Regions from separate parts of the Homo sapiens genome. Here regions 1, 3, 4 and 5 are each linked to region 2. The links are contacts of gene promoters, found by promoter capture Hi-C in human tissues and cell types (Jung and others, 2019). All regions are on one chromosome and are shown on one strand. The core of a region is centred on a gene start or on the middle of the fragment in contact, and the rest is flanking DNA. Distances in the headings are between cores, read along the strand shown.

The links. Contacts are between HindIII fragments. The study calls those that stand out against the background at their distance.
Region 1: a fragment that was not itself captured here is called in contact with the fragment with the promoter of TRPC4AP in region 2 in 1 of the 25 tissues and cell types used here (adrenal gland).
Region 3: the fragment with the promoter of AHCY here is called in contact with the fragment with the promoter of TRPC4AP in region 2 in 1 of the 25 tissues and cell types used here (small bowel).
Region 4: a fragment that was not itself captured here is called in contact with the fragment with the promoter of TRPC4AP in region 2 in 1 of the 25 tissues and cell types used here (aorta).
Region 5: a contact is called between a fragment that was not itself captured here and the fragment with the promoter of TRPC4AP in region 2, in 1 of the 25 tissues and cell types used here (psoas muscle).

The regions. Positions count from the first base shown.
Region 1 is chr20:34,519,028-34,521,727 of GRCh38, reverse strand. The region is part of intron 1 of DYNLRB1 (dynein light chain roadblock-type 1); the gene reads right to left. Among named protein-coding and RNA genes, the nearest start is that of DYNLRB1, 4.0 kb to the right of the region's middle. The HindIII fragment of the contact is 5,242 bases long and covers 1-2,700 here.
Region 2 is chr20:35,091,387-35,094,086 of GRCh38, reverse strand. It overlaps TRPC4AP (transient receptor potential cation channel subfamily C member 4 associated protein), which reads left to right and starts at 1,280. Exons shown (of 19, transcript NM_015638.3): 1 at 1,280-1,473. The coding sequence starts at 1,306. RefSeq lists a silencer at 1,379-1,508. The HindIII fragment of the contact is 9,696 bases long and covers 1-2,700 here.
Region 3 is chr20:34,301,971-34,304,670 of GRCh38, reverse strand. AHCY (adenosylhomocysteinase) reads left to right here and starts at 1,316. Exons shown (of 10, transcript NM_000687.4): 1 at 1,316-1,428. The coding sequence starts at 1,401. RefSeq lists enhancers at 952-1,071, 1,092-1,141 and a silencer at 1,712-1,941. The HindIII fragment of the contact is 38,207 bases long and covers 1-2,700 here.
Region 4 is chr20:35,735,302-35,738,001 of GRCh38, reverse strand. All of the region lies in intron 3 of RBM39 (RNA binding motif protein 39), which reads left to right. Among named protein-coding and RNA genes, the nearest start is that of RBM39, 5.6 kb to the left of the region's middle. The HindIII fragment of the contact is 5,614 bases long and covers 1-2,700 here.
Region 5 is chr20:34,453,973-34,456,672 of GRCh38, reverse strand. All of the region lies in intron 12 of ITCH (itchy E3 ubiquitin protein ligase), which reads right to left. Among named protein-coding and RNA genes, the nearest start is that of MIR644A, 11 kb to the left of the region's middle. The HindIII fragment of the contact is 4,557 bases long and covers 1-2,700 here.

The sequences.
Region 1 (2,700 bases), core at 163-2,662, 570 kb after region 2:
AGAAAGAAATGCACTCTGGGCAATGGGATGATGGAGACAAGGTTCCCCAATTCTCTAGTTCCCAGATGCACATTCCTGACACATGGAAAAACAAGCAGCAATAAAGATCCAGGAGGATCCATTGGCTCAGCATAGGAGGGATGACCACTGGAAGCAAATGACTGACAAAGAACTATGACCAATTTGACCACTAAACATAAAACTTCTGTATAAGAATAACTAATCTAACAGGATAGAAAAGTATTTGCATCAAATATAACAGACAAAATAAATAAAAAAAAAACACAAAATGACTAAGAACAATAGCAAGTCTCTAGTAGGTAGTGCACAAAAGAATACTAGTAGAAAATATGCCTACGAGAAATTACAATCACATCAAACCATGGTCATCATCCCTCACAAACAAATGAAAAATTCAGCTGGGCGTGGTGCTCACACCTGTAATCTCAGCACTTTGGGAAACTGAGGTGGGTGAATCACTTGAGGTCAGGAGTTTGAGACCAGCCTGGCCAACATGGGGAAACCCTGTCTCTACTAAAAATACAAAAATTAGCCGTCATGGTGGCATGGGCCTGTAATCCCAGCTACTCAGGAGGCTGAGGCAGGAAAATTGCTTGAACCTGGGAGGCAGAGTTTGTAGTGAGCTGAGATCGTGCCCTCCAGCCTGGGCAACAGAGTGAGATTCCATTTCAAAAAAAAAAGACAGAAATGAAAAATTATAGCAATGCTGAGGTTTATTTTTAAATGCTGGCATTGTTATTACAAAACTGGCAGGTGCAAGGGCAATACAATCTTGACAAAGCTACAGGACAATATATTGCAAGAACCATAAAAGCACTGGTCCTTCCACCTCAGAAATTATTTTCCTAAGAATTTTATCCTGAGGAAATAATCTAATAAGTAAGTTAAAATGAAACAAAACAAGATATTCACAGAAGCATCATCACAGCACTATTTCTACTAATTAAGAAATGGAAGCAGCCAGGTATGGTGGCTCATGCCTGTAATCCTGGCACTTTGGGAGGCTGAGGCAGGCGGATCACCTGAGGTCAGGAGTTTGAGACCAGCCTGGCCAACATGGCGAAACCCTGTTTCTACTAAAAAATACAAAAATTAGCTGGGCGTCATGATGCACACCTGTTAATCCCAGCTACTCAGGAGGCTGAGGCAGGAAAATCACTTGAACCTGGGAGGCAGAGGTTGCAGTGAGCTGAGATTGAGCCACTGAACTCCAGTCTGGGCAACAGAGTGAGACTCCATCTCTAAAACAAACAAACCAAAAAGAAATGGGAGCAACCCAAATGTACACAGGTAAGATATTTGGCCAATTATGGTACAACTATTTCACCGAGTATTATGTAGTCACTAAGTAGTTAATCACAAAGATGATATGACAACAAGGTTAAATGTTTTTGGATATTAAAACAACAAAAAAAGAAAAAAATCCCCCCAAAACTCAGCATGCATTATCTTGGAAAATATGCATATGTGAACAAAAGAGGAAGGAGAACATACAAAGATGAAAATAGTTATGTGGCACAGTGAAACTGGACGAGGAGAATTATATGTGATTATTTTTTAATTTTATTTATTTATTTTGAGACAGAGTCTTGCTCTGTTGCCCAGGCTGGAGTGCACTGGCCTGGTCTCGGATCACTGCAACCCCCGCCTCCCGGGTTCAAGCGATTCTAGTGCCTCAGCCTCCTGAGCAGCTGGAATTACAGATGCACGGCTTCCGGCTACTTTTCGTATTTTTAGTAGAGACAGAGTTTCACCATGTTGCCCAGGCTGGTCTCCAACTCCTGACCTCAAGTGATCTGCCCACCTTGGCCTCCCAAAGTGCTGGGATTATATGCGTCAGCCATTGTGTCCGGCCAATTATAGATGATTTTTATATCATTATTCTAAAGGTCAGTTTCCACCTAAAATGTAAAATATGCAAGCCAAAAGTGCCACTTGTAGAAATCTATCCTACATAACCACTAGCATGAGTGCAAAAAAGACAAGAACAGTTACTGCAGCAGTGTCTGGAATAAAAAAACTATACACCACCTAAATGTACATATGGGACTAGGATACGATACAGACCTTAAAAAGAATGAAGTGGACCTGCATATAATAACACAGAAAAATGTGTGATATTTTTAAGTGAACAGAACAAGTTGCAGAATAAGATATATACATATATATCTTAAAGTCAACTTCTGTTTTCTCTTATTTTTTTCTCACCCAGGGTGGAGTGCAGTGGTGCAGTCACGGCTCACTGTAGCCTTGACCTCCTGGGCTCAGGCGATCTCTCCACTTCAGCCTTAAAGTAAAGTTAACATATACAAATATATATATATTCCAGTTTCATCTAATAAACAGCTTATACATAAATGTGCTTATGCACCAAACACATCTGGAAGGAAACACACCCAACTGCCAACAGAAGTTGCCACGGGGTAGTAAGATGGGGACCACATAAACTTTCTATATTATATCCTCTGGTACTGCTTCAAATTGTTAACATACATGGTGGTTTACGCCCATAATCCCAGCATTTTTGGAGGCGGAGGTGGGCGGATCACCTGAGGTCATGAGTTTGAGACCAGCCTGGTCAACATGGTGAAACCCTGTCTCTACTAAAAATAGAAAAAAAACCCTGTCTCTACCAAAAATAGAAAAATTAGCCAGGCATGGTGGCATGCTCCTGCAGTC
Region 2 (2,700 bases), core at 31-2,530:
TTGGTCTATGTGCCTATTTTTATACCAGTACCATGCTGTTTGGGTGACTATGGCCTTATTGTATAGATTGAAGTCAGGTAATGTGATGCCTCCAGATTTATTCTTTTTGCTTAGTCTTGCTTTGGACATGCAGGCTCTTTTTTGGTTCCATATGATTTTTAGGATTCTTTTTTCTAGTTCTATGAAGATGGATGGTGAGTCTACTCCTTTTAGATGGGGTGTGAGGATGGTAACCATAGTGCCAGTTCACCTGGGAGAGTCACTTTTATGCCTACCGTCCCGGTGTAATTATTTATTGTGTCTTTTCATTCTTTAAAGTGTTCTGGTTTGAGCAGTAAGTTACAGTCATCTTAGTTATGAGTCACAATCTTCACCATTCCCTGTTACATCACACTTAGCTCTCCTCTTTCATTTTTATTACAGGCCCCCTGCTAGGAAGGGAAAAAGTGTGTGTGTGTTGGGTGGGGGGAGTCAGTGCCATCCTGCCACAGAAGTTAGCTGAAAAAATGAGTATTAGAGACAACATGCTATCTGGTGGATAGAAATTAGGACAGGGTTTTCATCTGACAGAGAATATGATGTCACAATTTACTAATCCCTTTCCCTTCCATTATTTAATTTCACAACAACCTACCCAGTTACACAACTTATCCAGTTTGAGACTGCGTTTCTTTGTGTATGGATCTGCTGTCTTCCCCTGTAACCTGCATTTCGTGATAAAGGATCCCAGGCCGTTCTGCTCACCACTGTATCCCAGACACCCTCCCTTTCCCCTAGACATGGTTTGGTGTCGGGCGCAGAGAAAGCCCCAGGAACTACGATTGATCAGGCTCCCAGAATCTATAGATGGAGTGACCTGACGAGGACACAGGCGCAGTGGCAGAGCGCGATGACTTGGTCGATGTCCGCGGTGAGTCACGTGTAGAGAGAAGCAGGCAGGAAGCGGACTCGAGGGCCTGACTCCTGACCTGAAGCCCAGGATCATTTCTTGGCCAGCTGCCTGCATCCTGCCCAAATCGGCGAGAGAAATGGGAGAATGTGGACCTTGGGAGATTTCGCCGAAATGCTGGGCCCGGGGGCCAGAGAAACCGGCAGTGCAGGAAAGGCCACATCTCTTTTCCCACCTACCCCGCTGCCGCGCAGGACTACAATTCCCAGTAGCCTCCACGCCGCACACGGTCCCTGCCACGCGGCTTGCGCCTCCGCCGACGGCCCACTGGGGGCGCTGCGGCGACCCCTCCGCCGCCCCGTAGAAATCTCCGCGGCCCCGAGGCCGCTTGCTTCCTGTTTGTCCGACGAGGAGACATGGCGGCGGCGCCGGTAGCGGCTGGGTCTGGAGCCGGCCGAGGGAGACGGTCGGCAGCCACAGTGGCGGCTTGGGGCGGATGGGGCGGCCGGCCGCGGCCTGGTAACATTCTGCTGCAGCTGCGGCAGGGCCAGCTGACCGGCCGGGGCCTGGTCCGGGCGGTGCAGGTACGAGGCTGGACCAGGAGGGGCGGGGCGGGGCGGACCAGGCGGGAGCTGGCGGGGGGCCGGGGAAGAGGCCTTTCCAGGCCGCCGCTGGACGGGCCAAAGCCCTTTTGGCTGGCCGGAAGGCCTCCCTGTGAGCTGCCCGGACGCTCTCAGCTGCAGCGGGGCCGTGGGAAGCAGCTGGCTTGATGTCCCTTGTCAGGGGCCGAGCGGGGCTGGGCTGCTGTGGACACTGATGGCGTGTACGAACCCTGGGCCCAGTTTCTGGATCCTCCCTTCTTTGCGCCACGTCTACACGTCTGGGGGACCCTGTCGTGTTTGTTTTAGCCTCTGTGGGCCTCGAGTTTATCCCGTGTATTGGGCGTGGGGGAGGGGGTCATCATTGCAGCCCCCAAATGGTTCCCGAGCATTTCATAAATGTCATTTTCTCAGGCCTTTCCTTGACACTCTTTCCTTCCCCTTTCTAAAGTAGGTCCCCATTGTTATTCTGTCACAGCCGCGAATTCGTTTCGTTTACATTACTTTCTTAGTCTATAATTTCGTATTTCTTTGTTGTCTGCCTTTTTCTCGCCCGTCTCCCACATTAGGCTGAGTTCCAGCGGGTGCAGAGACTATATCTGGTTTGCTAGTGTAGAGCGTCACGGTTAAGAGGGACTCTGGAGTCAGGCCTGGGTTCAAAGCCCTGCTCCTCTCTCTTGCTTGGGCAGGTGACCTTTCTGTGCCTCAGTTTCCTCACTTGTAAGATGAAGATGAGAATTAGTAACCTACCTTTTAAGATTGTTGTGGAGATCAAAGGGGGCAATTGTGTAAAGCATTAGTGCATTTCTGGTGCATACTAAGGGCTGAAGGTAGTTAATATTAAGCATCTGACTTATAACAGGTGCCCAACATATGATTATTGTTATTTTTGAGTGAGCGAAGGACACTGCTTTAGGGTAAACCAGGTTGAATAGGACCTAGTCCACTACTTCTTCCACCCTCCCCCACCCCGAACCTTGCTAACACCTGTAAAACATTAGCTTTATTTAAAGACAGCTTTTTCATAAAAAGTTTGAAGGATACTCAAGAAACTGATAAAGTGGTTGGTGGGAGTGAGGTGGGAATTGGGCTAAAGGGGGAGAAAATGGGAGTGAGACTTTTCACAGTGTAACTTTATTTAAATTTAATTTGAATATCACTTCCTCAAATGACGAAAAGGATAGAATAAAATAAAGGCTAGGGGGTCTGTGT
Region 3 (2,700 bases), core at 67-2,566, 790 kb after region 2:
GTGCGTGCCTGTAATCCAAGCCACTCGGGAGGCTGAGGCAGGAGAATTGCTTGAACCCGGGAGGTGGAGGTTGCAGCGAGCCTAGATGGTGCCACTGCACTCCAGTGTGGGCGACAGAGTGAGACTCCATAAAAAAAAAAAAAAATTCAGGGGAAAAAAAGCAATTAAAAAAACATAACTATAAAAATAATACAAATTACAAAACAACCATTTGCATAGCATTTACATTATATTAGTTATAAGTAATCTAGAGATGATTAAAGTGTACGGAGGAATGTGCATAGGTTATATGCCAATACTGCCTCATTTTATATGAGGGACTTGAACATAGAAGGGTTTTGGAGTCCACAGAGGTCCTGAAACCAATTTCCCCTTCCCATGCCTGGGATGACTGAATTATACAGCAGCAAAAATGAATATACTCAAGCTATATGCATGAGTCTCATAAATATAATGCTCACAGAAAAAAGCAAGTTGCAGAAGGGTAAATACGGTTGATATATAAAGGTGCTAAACACAGAACTATTTAATGATATACGGATGCAGTAAAAGTATAAGAAATGTATGCAAACTTACTTAAATTCAGGGTGTTGGTTACTTGGAGTAAGGCGAATGTTTGGGATGTCAGTAGGTACCTGACAAATGGCAACTTAACTTTGTTTTGGTTTTTTTGAGATAGGGTCTTGCCCTTTCGCCCAGGCTCAAGTGCTGTGGTGGGATGATAGCTCACTGCAGCCTCGATCTCCAGGCTCAAAAGATCCTCCCTCCCGCCTCCGCGTCCCAAGTAGCTGGGACCACAAGCGCGCGCCACCACGCCCGGCTAATTTTTAATTTTTTTTTGTAGAGTTCAGGTCTCACTGTGTTGCCCAGGATGGTCTTGAACTCCTGGGCTCAAGCGATCCTCCCGCCTTGGCCTCCCAAAGTGCTGGGATTACAGGTGTGAGCCACCGCGCCTGGCCTGCAACTTTACTTATAATAATCTGTGTGGCAGATGTCATTTGGCCCATTTTACAGATGAGGAAATTGAGGCACAGGGAAGTGAACTGGCGGAATTTCAGTTCCGCTGGGTTTTGACACTGAATCAACTGGCTGAACCAGCGAGAGGACGGCCCGGCTGGCTCTCAGGCCTCTCCCGGCGCTCCCTTCCGGACCGGTGAGTGAGACTCCTGGGGCCACGCCTTGTGAAATTCTGAGGCTTCTTTTCAGGGATCGAAATCCCCTCCGGCTCCGCCCTGCGCGTTGGGCCCCGCCCCAGCGGGTCATGAATATGCAAGTGCGAGGAAGATATTTAAAGGCGTCGGCGCCACGCGCATATCCCTGCTCGGCGCTGCCCGCCCAGTTCCTGTTCCCAGACTGAGGCCCAGCCCCCTTCGCCCGTTTCCATCACGAGTGCCGCCAGCATGTCTGACAAACTGCCCTACAAAGTCGGTGAGTCCCAGGACCTGCAGCCGGTTGCGGCCGCCCGGCACCCGCCCGGGGCTTGTTCGTGGCGGGGGCTGCAGGGCCGACTCGGGGCTCTCTGGACCCCCTGGAATCGCAGCCTCGGCGCGTTTCTGGCCGCGCGAAGCCAGCTGGAAGTTGGAGTTCTCGCGCGGCCATGAGCGGGCCGTTCCGGGTGGCCGTGGACTACAAGTCCCAGCATGCCCCGCGACGCCGGGGCCGCCGCGCGGTCTGCGAGCCGCAAACTGGCGGCGTGCTCCGCGGGAGAGCACACCTGGCCACGGCCTGGGACGGCTGGCACCTGCCGGACCCTGCTCGGGGGGCCTGCGCCCGGCCTCCTAGGCCTGGACCGGACCCTGTCCAGCTGGGCGGCCCCGACGAGCGTCCACCCCTCTCTGGGCCTCCTACAGGGACGGCGAGGGCACCCCGGAGGGTGTATGAGGAGAGGCCTGGAAAGCGAGCCCCAGGCCGGCTCCGATCCTCCTCTCCCCTGGGACTTTGGGCCAGTTACCCAACCTGTGGGGTCCCCCACCCCTCCAGCAGGGGCAGCCTTGCAGAAATCTCGAAGAAAATTTGGAGTGGTTTGAAAAATCCTGCTGTCCCACCGATTGAAGTGTAATACAGGGATAGTTAACGTTTACTTAGTGTTTCCTGTGGGATCGGCACTGCCTTCTAGCTTTATTCTAGTCTCATGGCTCTATAGGGAAACTGTTCTCATTTTATGATGAGAATCCTGAGGCAGAGGTAACTTGCCCTCAGTCTTACAGCTGGTGGTGATGGAGCAAGATTGGAACGCAGGCCATCTAGATCTCTGAGCGCACCCTTTCACCACTGTGTGCAAGCGAATACACGCGGAACAATCCTAGTGAATTTTCAGCAAAAACCAGTTCAGTTTGGCTGGTAGCTTTTCAAGTAACTTTGACACTATTGGACCGGGTGTGGTGGCTCACCCCTGTAGTCCCAGCACTTTGAGAGGCCGAGGTGGGCGAATCACTTGAGGTCAAGAGTTCGAGACCAGCCTGGCCAACGTGGTGAAACGCTATCTCTACCAAAAATACAAAAACTAGCTGGGCGTGGTGGCGGGCGCCTTCATTCCCAGCTACTCGGGAGGCTGAGGCAGGAGGACTGTTTGAGCCGGGGAGACGGAGGTTGCAGTGAGCCGAGATTGCACCACCACGCTCCAACCTGGGCAACAGAGCAAGACCCTGTCTCAAAAAAAAAAAACAAACAAAAAAAGACACTATTAAGTCTGGAGAATGC
Region 4 (2,700 bases), core at 169-2,668, 640 kb before region 2:
TTTTATTTTTAGTAGAGAGGGAGTTTCACCGTGTTAGCCAGAATGGTCTCCATCTCCTGACCTCTCATGATCCTCCTGCTGTGGCCTCCCAAAGTGTTGGGATTACAGGTGTGAGCCACCGCGCCTGGCCTTTTTTTTTTTTTTTTTTTTTTTGACACGGAGTCTTGCTCTGTTGCCCAGGCTGGAGTGCAGTGGTGTGATCTCTGCTCACTGCAAGCTCCGCCTCCTGGGTTCATGCTATTCTCCTGCCTCAGCCTCCCAGGTAGCAGGGACTACAGGCGCCTGCCACCATGCCTGGCTAATTTTTTGTAATTTTAGTAGAGACAGGGTTTCATTGTGTTAGCCAGAATTGACCTTGTGATCCGCCTGCCTTGGCCTCCAAAAGTGCTGGGATTACAGGTGTGAGCCACCGTGCCCAGCCTCTGTCTTTATTTTTTCTTTGAGACAGAGTTTCGTTTTTGTCACCCAGGCTGGAGCGCCATGACACGATCTCAGCTCACAGCAACCTCTGCCTCCTGGGTTCAGGCAGTTCTCCTGCCTCAGCCTCCCGAGTAGCTGGGATTACAGGTTCCTGCCACCACGCCTGGCTAATTTTTTTTTTTTTTTTTTTTTGAGATGGAGTTTCAGTCTGTTGCCCAGGCTGGAGTGCAGTGGCGCAGTCTTGGCTCACTGCAACCTCTGCCACCCGGGCTTAAGCGATTCTTCCGCCTCAGCCTCCCGAGCAGCTGGGATTACAGGTGCCTGCCACCGCACCTGGCTAATTTTTGTACTTTTGGTAGAGATGGGGATTCACCATCCTGGCCAGGCTGGTCTTCAACTCCTGACCTCGTGATCCACCTGCCTTGGCCTCCCAAAGTGCTGGGATTACAGGCGTGAGCCATCATGCCCAGCCAATTTTTGTGTTTTTAGTAGAGACAGGGTTTCACGATGTTGGCCAGGATGGTCTCCATCTCTTGACCTCATGATCCGCCCGCCTTGGCTTCCCAAAGTGCTGGGATTACAGGCGTGAGACATGGACCCAACTGAGACTCCGTCTTAAAAAAAAAGTCTGGGCTTGGCGTGGTGGCTCACACCTGTAATCCCAGCACTTTGGGAGGCTCAGGCGGGTGGATCACAAGGTCAGGAGATCGAGACCATCCTGGCCAACATGGTGAAACCCCGTCTCTACTAAAAATACAAAAATTAGCTGGGCGTGGTGGTGCACGCCTGTAGTCCCAGCTACTCTCGGGAGGCTGAGGCAGGAGAATCGCTTGAACCTGGGAGGCAGAGGTTGTAATGAGCTGAGATTATGCCATTGTACTCCAGCCTGGAGACAGAGCGAGACTCCGTCTCAAACAAACATAAAAATCTGTCATACTTACGACCTTATGTTAATGAAAAACGAGAGAAAAATAGCCATTTATTTGATTTCTTTTTGGCTCTTTTCCTCCTAAGATCCCTAAATGCTTCATAGTAAGTATGTCAGTCTTTCTCACTACAACTGTGTTAGGTAGGTTGATAAAATTTCATAAAACAGATGAGAAAATATATAATGTTATTCAGGGCTTGTTAAGCCACTATTTTTTTTTTTTGTAGTTCCCCTAAAATAATGTGGTAATGGATTAAAAATGATATAATTTGTAGAAAATGTGCTCCTTTTTTCTGGTATAAGCTTGGATGGGAGTCATTTATAGTTCCTCACCAATCACAAGAAATTGTGGGGATCAGGTTGGGTTTAGTCTTGATGTGGGATCTGATGCAACCAACCAGAGGTATGGTTTATGTCATCTGGTTTTAGACTTTCTGCCACAGTAATGGTTTCCTAATGTTTTTGTTTTGCAATTCTCTAATCAAAAGAAAACCCAGGAAGGTGTATCCATATAAATTGACATAAATTATCCAATTTAGGTGTCAGGCCGAGTGGCTAAAGATTTCGCTTCAAGTGCCAGAAGGATAAGAACGTACACTTTTGGGTACAGACCTTCGTTACTGTACCATTGTCTCATGTCGCTTTTTGCCACTAAGGTCATCTCCGGTGTCTACTTGTTTTTATCCTGTGTATAAGCTGATTAAGGCTACAAGCTTTTACAAGGAAGCTGAGCATCAAGTTCTCCATGTGTGATATTCGGTGGCCTTTGTCTAATGTAGAGAACCACAGGACTAAATAGGAGAATGGACAATTTTCTTTAACCATGAGATTGTCTAAGGGAAGATCCTTTCAAAACACTTTGGTAATCTTAAAATACTTTCCAGTCAGACTTCTCGTCAATTATAGGTGATAAATAAATGATTCCCTTGTTCAATCAGGACTCTTGATTTTCTGAAGGAACTTTATGTTTCAAATTAATTTTAAAGTTACCTGGAAGAAAATTTTTGTATTTAGGAATAGATATAAAACATACAGAACACTCTGCTTTAAACCTTTAGTACTAAATTAAATTTCTTAACCAAAGGAAAGTGCCGTGTTGCATTTTTCATTCTAAAACTTCATTGTCTTAAAAGCCACATTGAGCTATAGTTTGTTAGGTAGTAGAAAAATGGCATGTTCTGAGAAACAGTTGACTGAGTATAAATTTTTTTAATTGTATAATTCTGATTCTTAACATACACTTCATAGTATCCTAGAATAGTAAAAGGAACAAAGTTATTGTGACACAGACTGGTTGTCAACCTATTTTCTGAAGAGCTGTAAACCTGAGTTTTTGCATATGTCAAGGTATG
Region 5 (2,700 bases), core at 155-2,654, 640 kb after region 2:
CACACACACACACATATATATATATATATTTTTTTTTTTGGAGACAAGGTCTCACTTTGTCACCCTGGCTGGAGTGCAGTGGCGTGATCTCAGCTCACTACAGCCTTGACCTCCCAGGTTCAGGTGATCCTCCTGCCTTAGCCCCACAACTTGTACAACTTGATTTTTAGAAACTAAGCTTTTTAAAAAGTTTGAATCCATTCTGTGATCTTTAATACATCAGTTATTCATTTTGAGACATGTTGAACAAATAAAAAAATTAGGATACCAGAAGAGTCCCATCTTTTGAAGAATTAATTGGTAATGGGACAGAGAAGCAACTTCCGGGGCTAAGGCAGGAGGGTCACCTGAACCTGGGAGGTCAAGACTGCAGTGAGCTGAGATCATGCCACTGCACTCTAGCCTGGGTGACAAAGTGAGGCCCTGTCTCAAAAAAAAAAAAAAAAAAAAAAAAAAAATATATATATATATATATATATATATATATACACACACACACACACACACACACACAATATATAAAAATATATATAAAATAAGGAATATAATGTAATTTGAGAGTGTGTATATATACATACATATATATACAAAATAAGGAATATAATATAAGGTATATGCTAGGCATTATTCAACTAAAAAATACTTCCTTTCTTAATACACTTAACATATCTCGTTCCTTAATATACCCAGTTCCAAAATCCTAAATATCTACAGTAACTTTCTATACAAGGGATAGGAAGCAGAACTCAGTTCTCTAATTACTGCATCTAAAGCTGCTGCTTGTTCCCCAACTGCCTCTTGCTTTAGGATTCTCCCTGTTTTCGTGTTCCCAGTCTACAAAATTTTACCTGCTTTCCTGAAATCTCCCCATTAAGGTTTAGAAGATGTGGATATTGGCCGGGCGCAGTAGCTCATGCCTGTAATTCTAGCACGTTGGGAGGCAGAGGCGGGCGGACTGCCTGAGCTCAGGAGTTCAAGACCAACCTGGGCAACATGGTGAAACCCCGTCTCTACTAAAATACAAAAAAGAAAAAAAAAAAAAATTAGCCAGGCATGGCGGTGTGCACCTGTAGTCCCAGCAACTCGAGAGGCTGAGGCAGGAGAACTGCTTGAACCCGGGACGCAGAGGTTACAGTGTGCCGAGATGGATTACAGCCTGGCGACAGAGCAAGACTCCGTCTCAAAAAAAAAAAAAAAATGTGGATATCATTTTCTCTTTTAGTAAACAAATTAAGTAGACTTGAAATTTTAACAGTTCTGCTGTTTTTGAATTACTGACTTCTCTGTCCCATTACCAATGAATTCTTCAAAAGATGGGATTCCTGCTGTATCCTAATTTATTTGTTCAACATGTCTCAAAATGAATAACTGATGTATTAAAGATCATAGAATGAACTGATGTATTAAAGATCATAGAATGAACTGAAACTTTTTAAAAAGCTTAGTTTCTAAAAATCAGCATTTTAAACAAAAATTTAAGTTTAATCCATGTTGACATGGCTAATTTTTATTTCCTGTGGTTTGAAAAATTGGTTAACTATTGGTCCTGCGCTGTGGCTCACGCCTGTAATCCCAGGACTCTGGGAGTTATAAGGCAGGCGGATGGCCTGAGGTCACGAGTTTGAGACCAGCGTGGCCAACAGGTCGAAACCCCGTCTCTACTAAAAATACAAAAATTAGCTGGGCATGGTGGTGGGCATCTGTAATCCCAGCTACTAGGGAGACTGAGGCAGGAGAATCGCTTGAACCCGGGAGGCAGAGGTTGCAGTGAGCCAAGATCATGCCATTGCACTCCAGCCTGGGCGACAAGAGCAAAACTCCATCTCAAAAAAAAAAAAAAAAAAAAAAAAAAAAACAGGAAAAGAAAAAAGAAAAATTGGTAACTATTTTTCAAATTAACACTTGAGATCATCTGGATCAGTTTTAGGCCAAATTATAGTCTTGTCAAGTTCGTATTTGGTAATATTTAATTTTATTTCCAATATAATTCCATGATTTCAAGTAGTAGTGATAACAGAGGTTAAAATGGATGTAACTAGTGAGTATCACAAACCTGCTTCTGACATTTAAAGCTACTTTCTATGTCAGCTTAGCTTAAAATGAAAATAGAATTCCAATGTGCATAATATACAGAAAAGTGGGACTCTGCCTCTCATGACACAGGTTTTGCTGGTCAAGGCATCTTCAGTGCATAAGCTTATCACCAACTCAAAGGCTGTCTCTAAAGAAAAACATAGGCCGGGCGCGGTGGCTCACACCTGTAATCCCAGCACTTTGGGAGGCCGAGGCGGGCGGATCACGAGGTCAGGAGATCGAGACCATCCTGGCTAACACAATGAAACCCCGTCTCTACTAAAAATACAAAAAATTAGCCGGGCGTGGTAGCGGGCGCCTGTAGTCCCAGCTACTCGGGAGGCTGAGGCAGGAGAATGGCGTGAACCCGGGAGGCGGAGGTTGCAGTGAGCCGAGATCGCGCCACTGCACTCCAGCCTGGGCGACAGAGCGAGACTCCGTCTCAAAAAAAAAAAAAAGAAAAACATAATCACCCACAGTGTTACAGCTTGCTCTTGTTAACATAACAGCAAGATAAGTTCATGTCTTGGCAGTCGCATTAAATTTTAAAAATTTATTTGCAGAATCCAGAATTCTCTCTTTGTTCTTCTTCTTCTTTTTTGAGACGGAGCCTTGCTCTGTCACCCA